2 separate regions of the Homo sapiens genome follow, and region 2 is linked to region 1. Evidence: promoter capture Hi-C in 16 types of primary human blood cells and fetal thymus (Javierre and others, 2016). All regions are on one chromosome and are shown on one strand. Each heading gives the region's core, a stretch centred on a gene start or on the middle of the fragment in contact. The rest is flanking DNA. Distances are from core to core; before and after follow the strand shown.

Region 1 (3,965 bases), core at 68-2,567:
ACGTGGGGCTGAGCTCACACTGCCTGCCTAGAAAGCAGCTCCAGAATGCAGTGGAGAGGGTGCCAGGATGTTTGTGTCCTCCCTGGGGACAGTGGGGTGGCTGCCTCTGCCGGTCTGATGACTGGGCTGAGAATATTAGCTAACGTTGATTGGACACTCATGGTGTCTTTCAAACAATTTTTACAGGATTCACAGGGCAGGCCATGAAGCCAGACTGCACGGTGCAAATTCCAGCTCCAGCACTTACTGGAGGGCAATGTTGGGCAAGATGCTTAACTGCTCCATGCCTCAGTTTCCTCATTTGTAAAATGGATGGAATAACGTGGTGTATCTGTGCCTTAAAGGGTGTTGTGAGAATTAAAGGAGTTAGTCCACATAAAGCTCTCAAAACAGGCTTTGCACATAGCTCATGCTCAGTAAACATGAGATATTATGACTTCAGTTAAGGCTCACAACCACCCAAGAGGTAGTTATTAATGCTGTCAACCCCATTTCATAGAGGGGGAAACTGAGACTCGGAGGAGTTAAGTGGTTTATTAAAAATCCAACCCTTGCTGGTCTCCGTTGATTGCACAGGGAAGTCACCAACCCAGGGGATCGATCAGATTCTGTCCCCCATCCTCCAGGAGTAGGGTCTCACACCATCAGTACACTGCAGGCACCAGACTCGGAAGACTGAGGCAAGGTCCTGGGTCTCCATGTTTACATCCATGCATTACTCGCAGAGCCAGGACTCAAGGCCAGGCCTGTGTGGTTTTAGGCCTGGAAATTCAACCCCTGCCCCAAACCACCAGGTGCTCCAAAAGGCCACAGAGATAGCCCTGGTGGCCAGAGATCAAGGAACCCTCCCCAGTGGATAGGCCACGTGGCCCTCTGCACACCCTACCGGACCCTGCTCTCCATTCTTGCCGACTCCCTCTGAGGCCACTTCTGAGATTTGTTCAAATCCGACACCCCCAAAGGTGGAAGTGGGGTGGGGAGAATGGAGGGTCCTGGGCTCCAAACTGTCTGTTGGAATGGCCCTGGGCCCTGGGGACCCTTGGCCTGGAAAGAGGGAGGCGCATGGCAAAGGGACCTGAGACTGTGGCTGCCAGGCCTGGCCTGTGGAGGGCCTTGTGTCCTTTCACCCCAAGCTCAGGCTTGTTGAGCACCCTGGCTGGAGGATTCAGCCCTCATCACCACCTAGCTCTCTTCTCCCGGGGGCAGCCCTCCCTCCACACCCCTCATAGACCTGCCTGGAGGGGGACTCACAGGGGCGGGTCGTGGAGATACTGCAAGTTCGCCGTCCTGCCGCCATGACAGCCTGGAGTTCGAGTTAATCCATAACCACAAATATTTGCTTGGCCCTCAGCACTGAGGCCTCCCTCTCCATAGACAAACAGTGGCACTAGCACTCCTGGTCCTAGCTCAGCACGGCTTGTTCTGCCCGAAGCCCACCTCTGCCCACCAAGGATGCCGTCCAGCAGGGAGGGAGGTGAGGGCAAAACCCTTGACAGATGTGGTCTCATTTTAGCCCCATAGTGGCTGGCTGAGGGAGGAACGTTGTCCCTGTTTTTCAGATGGGGACATTTTTGCCCAGAGATATTATAGTTTGCCCAAGATCAGCACAACAGGTAATATTCCATATTTCGTCAAATCTAAAATACCATTAATTATAAGACACATGTATTTATGTGCCACCATACAAGAAAAAAGACGCTGTCCCAATGACATGCCATCCCAATTTCTGATACATAAAATCATGAGAAGATGCTCCTTTTTGGGTCCCCAGTGCATAGGTGCTGGGCACTGGGCTCCACCCTCACCTCCAATTGCTCACAAATCACCCCCAATCCCCACCCCCAACACACACACACAATGGCACATAGCATCCCTCTAACCTCTATTTTTCAGGTAAGGACACTCAAGTTTTGTGTTACTCGCCCAGATTCACTGAGCTGGTAGTTGGCAGATTTAATTTGAACTCAGGTCTTGCTGCTTCCATTTGGCCCCTTTTGTGGACCAGTAAGAAAAATGAACGGGATTCCAGAAAGGCTGCAGCAATTTCCTGGCCGGGGTGCCAGAAGGGAGAAGGGCAGAAATAAAGGGTCCAGCTCAGCACCTTTGCCTGTGTCCTGCAGTCTATCAGCATTTATTAAGCGTCTTCCTGCTCCGAACCGGGCTGCACCAGAGATGCCCCCCTTTCCTCCCTGCCCTACCTGTTCCTGGGAAGACTTGCCCACGTTCCTTCTCCAAGTCTGCACCTCTAAACGGGGCATGTGACCCTGCCTCGCTGGCTTCCATTGATTGCACAGGGAAGTCACCAACCCAGGGGATTGATCAGAGGAGTAGGGTCTCACACTGTCAGTACACCATAAGTACCAGACTCGGAAGATTGAGGCCAGGTCCTGGGCATCCATGTTTACGCTTAAAGCAGAGGAAGCTGATGAGAAGGAAGATGCAGGTGTGCAGAGGGGGACTGAGGCCACGGACACCTAGAGAGTCCCAGGGAGCAGCGGAAGGAGGCCCCTGCCTCCTTATGATTGGTGGCACATCCTGGCTTCGGGTGCAGGAGGGTCCCCATGCCCTCCTAAAACCCTATTCCTCCTGAAGTTTCTTTAAATTGGCTGGAACAGCTTGTGTTGATTGTAACCAGATGCCTCCTGCTGAGGCACCACACCATGCTGGGCTGTGGTGGTACCAGGCCCTCCTAGAGGAACAGGGTAAAACTCTAACACTCTAACAAGTCAGGCCCACCTTGCCCAGGGGCAGGTACACATAGGAAATGCTTACAGAATTCAGAGGAGAGGGCAATCAGTACAAGCTGGCATAGCCAGGGGAGGCTGCCTGTAGGAGGTGACACTTCAGCTGGACATCAAAGAGCAGACAGGAGGAAAGACATCCCCCCCAACCCCACCCCAGGTTGGGAGACAGTGGGGAGACACAGAACACAAGCAGTCAGGAGGTGCTAGGAGGGGTGGAGGTGGAGAGGAGGTGGAGGGTGAGGCAATGGATTTTGAAATCGAGACTATGAGAAGTGGAGAACCAGGAGCTGTTTGTGACAGGCTGTGGCAGCTGCCTAGAAAAGCAGAGACAAGCTTCTGGGAACTCAGACAGGAAGCATGAAGACCCCATGCACAACCACAGAAGGCACCAGCTTGTATGTCCCTGTTTGCTTCAGGCGTCGCCCCCGCAAGTCTGCAGAGATCACTGCCCTCTGCTTTGCCTTCCAGGTGCAAGATGTTGTGGGTATTCTTTTGGCGCCGCTTCCCTTCCCCACCAACTTCTCGCCCTCTACTCCTCCCCACCCCAGCACAGGCAGCCGCTCCAGGGCAAGTCTATGCAGGCTCCACACACTGATTCTGACCTGCATAAATGGACTCTGCCCGGGGCACCCATGTCCAAACCAGCCCAGGTGCCCAAAGCACCGGCACCGGTACGAGCCAGGGCGGCTGCAATGCTCCCAAGTGCCCAGTGCTGGGGGTTGGGGGTGCCACGGCTTGGCAGGCTGCCCAGAGGGCGGAAGGGTCCTCTGCAGAGCTCTGCACGCCTGTCGGCCGACGGGGACTCTGCACGGCGGGCTGCGTCACGGCCGCCTCATCGGCTGGCAGCGCAGGAAACCCCGTCACCTTCTCGAGGTAGGGACAGTCCTGCCGCCAGCCGTTCCTGCGATCCCAGGGTCTCTGCAGTTACACCTGGTTCCAGCCGGGGGCGCCGCGCCGCACCGCTCCTGCGGAGGAGCCAGGCGCCCTTCACAGGCGCGGCCTCACCCGCTTTACTTGTCAGGTGTGAGTCGCCCCACGTGCACCCGAACGCGGTCAGGTCCACCCAGGAAGCCGGAGCAGGACTTTGGGCAGCGAGCTCGCTGTGAGTTAGAGAGCAGAGGGACACCTGTGGCTAAGGAATTCGCTGCATGGATGAAGACCCAAGCAAAGGAGCTAGAACCAAATGTGTGTGGGGCAAGGCCAGCCACAACTACCGGAGCA
Region 2 (4,574 bases), core at 850-3,349, 290 kb before region 1:
TGGGGGCATGGATCTGGCTGATGCTGAGGCCCATGGCCATGAGCCAGGAAGGGGGAGGCAGGGTCAGGAAAGGGTAGAGGCACACCTCTCAGTACGCTGAATACCACTGCCAGTCTCCCTGGCACCCACCAGAACTGGTCCATTGTCATCAGAGAGTAAAGTTTGTACTGGGAGTTACTGACAAACAGTTGCTAATACAAAAAGTCCCATGTGAAATTTTCTTTGTTTCAGGCCGAGGGGGCCCAGGACCTGCTCAGAGAGTGCCCAAATCTGGGCGTTCCAGCTCCTTAGACGGAGAGCACCACGATGGATACCACAGAGATGAACCTTTTGGGGGCCCTCCAGGCAGTGGCACCCCTTCTCGAGGGGGCCGGAGTGGCAGTAACTGGGGTAGAGGGAGTAACATGAACTCTGGCCCGCCGAGGCGAGGAGCTTCACGGGGTGGTGGAAGGGGTCGGTAGAAGCTGGAACTGAGTACCCTGAGGCCTCTCTGGACAGTATGTAAGAACTTCTTGTGGACTCACCAAGAGAAACAAAAGGAAGCCTGCACCATTGTAGCCCTGAACTCTTTTCTGGGCACCTGAATCCCAGGAACCCTCAATGAGGTCTTCAAGATGAAGAGACTGCTGCCAGCTACCAGCCTGGCTGGCCCTGTCCTGTCCACCCTCATTGCCCCAACTCCCATGTTGTTTTGTGAAGATAAAAGCTGGGATCTTTTTCTTTTTTTTAAGTCTCACAAGACATGGGGCATCTCCACAAATTTAAGTTCCTGTCCATTTGGAAATTTGTTTCTATGTGTACAGTTTGTCAGAGAAAAACAAAGTTTTTGTATGAATACAGAATGTGATTTACGCAAGAATTGACAGAAAACTAGTTGTGAAGTGCTTGCCTTAAGGAAACCTTTGGTTTCCATCGCATCCCATCTGCCAAGGAATGCACGGTTGTTGCTGATGTTCATGAGCATATTAACCACTAGGTTATCTAAATTAATCTCAGCTGTGAACTTTGTGTTTTTCAACACATTCTGTCACACCATTTTTGTGACAGAAAAATACTTGAAAATTATTCTAATGTAGTTTGTAGTAGGTTCAAATTTTTATTCAGACATGCTCTGACAGATGGAAAATTGTACTCTGAAGAGAAAATGCAATCTTCTGGATGTCCAACGAGGGAGCTTCCCCTTGGAAGCATCTCCTAAGAATCACAGTTTAGGTTTGAATCGCCTTGTTATGATGAGGAGAGGAACTTGATGTTAGTCAGAAATAAAGTCACATGCCCTTTAGATAACTTGAAATCACACATGGAGTTGATAAGGAATGGACCAAAATAGGTCCTCAAACAATTTTGCAACACTTAATTAAGTTTTCCTCTCTTCCTCTTCCATACTATGTGGAAATACCAGTGTTACGGCAGGGCGTACTTCTAACTCACAGTAAGCCAGATAGATCTTGTCCATGGCAAATTCCTTGTTTAAAATAAACATACCATTTAGCCCAGTTTGGATTGGAAGCCAAAAATTCAGTTTGTTATATACCCCATGATACTTTCTATACTGACCTTTATTTTGGTTTTACATGGAAGCTTTTATTAAAAGGACTGTCCTATGGCCACCTTAACATTTCATTACATTGGCAGCTTCAGTTTTGGCATCAGTCAAATTTATTTGGCAAATTTAGTGGTGCTGGAAGTTTCTTTTTTTCTTTTCCTTTTTTGACAGAGTCTTGCTCTGTCACCCAGCCAGGAGTGCAGTGGTGCAATCACGGCTCACTTCAGCTTTGACCCTGCCTCAGCCTCCCTAGTAGCTAGGACTACAGGCATATGCCACCATGCCCAGCTAATTTTTTGTGTGTGTGTTTTTTGTAGAGATGGAGTTTCACCACTTTGTCTATGCTGGTTTCAAACTCCTGGGCTCAAGCGGTCCACCTGCTGTGGCCTCCCAAAGTGCTGGGATTGCAGATCTGAGCCACAGTACCTGGCCGCTGGTGCTGGAAGTTTCAATGGTTGCTTAGAAAAGGCATACTGATATAGTTTAACAGGATATGAAAATTTAACTGGTTCTCTATGAATGTAAAAAACAGCAAAAGCTAATTGATTTCTGTGGAGTGAGAAAATGTCAGCCATATACACTGCTTTTCAGTGTTAGAATCTAGAGACTATTTTTTTTTTAACTTTGAAATTACAGCTTATTTAATCAGCGCTCCACCATAAACATGCTATTAGGAGGCTCAAGATTGCTTTAGGTTATGGGTATTTCTTCACTCACCCCCAACTGGTATAGCTTAAAGAGAGAGAAACTGTAATCAAATTTCATGAAGCTAAAACCGGATCCAGAGACCAAACCCATATCAAGATTAGACTTTTTTTCCCTGAGATTCTAGTGGAAAAATTTTCATTATTTTGGGCTTTAACTTTAGAAACATAGTATCTCAGTAAGCAGATAACCAGATCACATTTAAAAATTTTCATTTTACCTTGAAGCTCTACTGGACTTGACAGATCACATTTTGAGAGTGAATTCATTTAAACAATAAACCTCTACATTATACTTATTAAATATATATGGCATTTAAAAACATCACTGTCAGCATACATACTAGATGTTGTGATTTGAAGCTTATAAAAAGTAGATTTTCAATGATGTTTGATTTGAGAAAAAATTTTTGAGACAAGGTCTCGCTGTTGCCTAGGCTGTGGTGCAGTGGTGTGATCACAGTTCACTGCAGCCTCAACCTCCTGGGCTCAAGTGATCTTCCCACCTCAGCCCCACCCCAAGTAGCTGGGATCACAGTTGTGTGCCACCATATCTGGCAAATTTTTTGAAGATTTTCTGTGGCGATGGGGTTTAACTGTGTTGCCCAGGCTGGTCTTGAACTCCTGGCCTCAAGTGATCCTCCCGCCTTGGCCTCCCAAAATGCTGGGATTACAGGTGTGAGCCACCAGCTGAGAAATGTTGAATTTTTAAGTTTTTATTTAAGAAATAAACATTGTAAAACATCATTATAAAACCCCCAACTATTGCAAGTTCTAGAGAAATTTAAAACTAGAACAGAAATTTAGGGGACTAGAAAGAGCAGCCAATGGCACAAGTCTTTACAATTAATTAAAAAAATAAATCATTCTGAAGATACTGCATTTGCTCTCTCACAAGCAGCCTCCTGAGGTAGGTAACCTTGTTTACTGATGGGGAACAAGGCAGTGTTCTTTACCAAATCTCAGGGCGGGTAGCCTGCAAGCCTACAGTGTGGATGTTGGCCACTTGTGTCACTTCTTGGGACGGGGCTTAGGGACCTGACTTACTTAGGAACATAAATTTTGGGGTTGGAGGAAGCAGCAGTGCTCTACTGCGGCACGACAGACACCCTGTTAAGGCAACACTGGGATCCAGCTCAGGAAAAGCATTACTTTCAAATTGTGCAAGCCAATGCACAGAAAAGTGGTCCTCAAACTTGGGGAACGTAGAATCACTTGGGGAGCTTTAAAAAGGTCCTGATGTCTGGGACCTACTTCCCAGGTTCTGACTGCATTGATCTGAGGTGTGGCTCTTCAAGTAACTGATGTGCAGTCAAGCGCGAGGACCACTGGCACACAATGTTTAAATTCTAAATATATTTTACTTCCTAGTGTATTGCTACTGACAAAACGTAGTTTTCTGGACTCATCAGAATGTTAGGCTCATACCTTCTGGCAATAAATTAAGGTAGTTAAAAGTAACTGCTGAACCTAAAATGAAGGCAGCAGCAATTAGATATAAAAAAATCTTAAGATCAGCCTGCAAATTGTAAACTAGTTTACAAAGCAGGCTATACAATGAGGAATAATTCGAGCTTGTAGAAATCCATGGTTTCCACCAGATACAGGTATTCCGGATCTAGAATTATCTTTCTATTTGCAGGATTTCCGAAGAGACCGTTAAGCATCTACGCGCCCCTTCCTGGATCCCATGCTTCTTGGGGCAGGAAATTTCTTTTGGTCCGTCGCTTTCGTCGTGAAATACACAACTAATTTTCCTTTCATGTTATAAGGCACCATATTTATGATTTTGTTAACTGAAGAAAAAACCCGAGATAAACCATCTTAAGTACTTTTAAAAGTCCAGTGGCTGAATTCGGTGTTTAATCTGATACCCTTCTGGATTCGCTGACACTGGAGAGAATAATTTCCAAGTCTTAGTATAGCCAAAACAAAAAACTACCGTCGCTAAGCTACATCTACCACTGGATTTTAAAATGACAAAACAGCCTGAGAAAAATCACAAGAGCAGCTAACTCGAAGAAAAATCCTTTTTCTTTACTCAGCCGAACCTAAGACCACAGTTACTTCGAAAGCAACTTCTAATAACCGTCTCACATCCTGTCACCAGTTCAATGACAAAATCTCAGTTTTCAGAGCGTGTGCCAAGTCCAGCACAAAAAGCTGACATCGAGGAGCTCCCAACGCTGCTGTCGCCTCCGCTGGCAGCAGCCGCTCCCGGATTAGACTCGCAGGCTGTTAGGGCAGGGCCTTCGCCACGGGCTTCCGCACAGCGGCGTGCAGTCCTCAGCTCGGCCGGCGCGGTCTCCGACGGCGCTGGCTCC

Evidence for each region. Contacts are between HindIII fragments. The CHiCAGO score rates a contact against its expected background, and 5 or more counts as called.
Region 2: a contact is called between a fragment that was not itself captured here and the fragment with the promoter of PROC in region 1, in 1 of 17 cell types (fetal thymus). The highest score is 5.3, in fetal thymus.

What each region holds. Positions count from the first base shown.
Region 1 is chr2:127,415,779-127,419,743 of GRCh38, reverse strand. It overlaps PROC (protein C, inactivator of coagulation factors Va and VIIIa), which reads right to left and starts at 1,317. Exons shown (of 9, transcript NM_000312.4): 1 at 1,252-1,317. RefSeq lists enhancers at 3,154-3,213, 3,594-3,965. The HindIII fragment of the contact is 16,432 bases long and covers 1-3,079 here.
Region 2 is chr2:127,702,210-127,706,783 of GRCh38, reverse strand. WDR33 (WD repeat domain 33) reads left to right here. Exons shown (of 22, transcript NM_018383.5): 22 at 232-4,574. The coding sequence ends at 461. It overlaps SFT2D3 (SFT2 domain containing 3), which reads right to left. Exons shown (of 1, transcript NM_032740.4): 1 at 1,542-4,574. Among named protein-coding and RNA genes, the nearest start is that of SFT2D3, 3.0 kb to the right of the region's middle. RefSeq lists a silencer at 4,529-4,574. The HindIII fragment of the contact is 1,032 bases long and covers 1,584-2,615 here.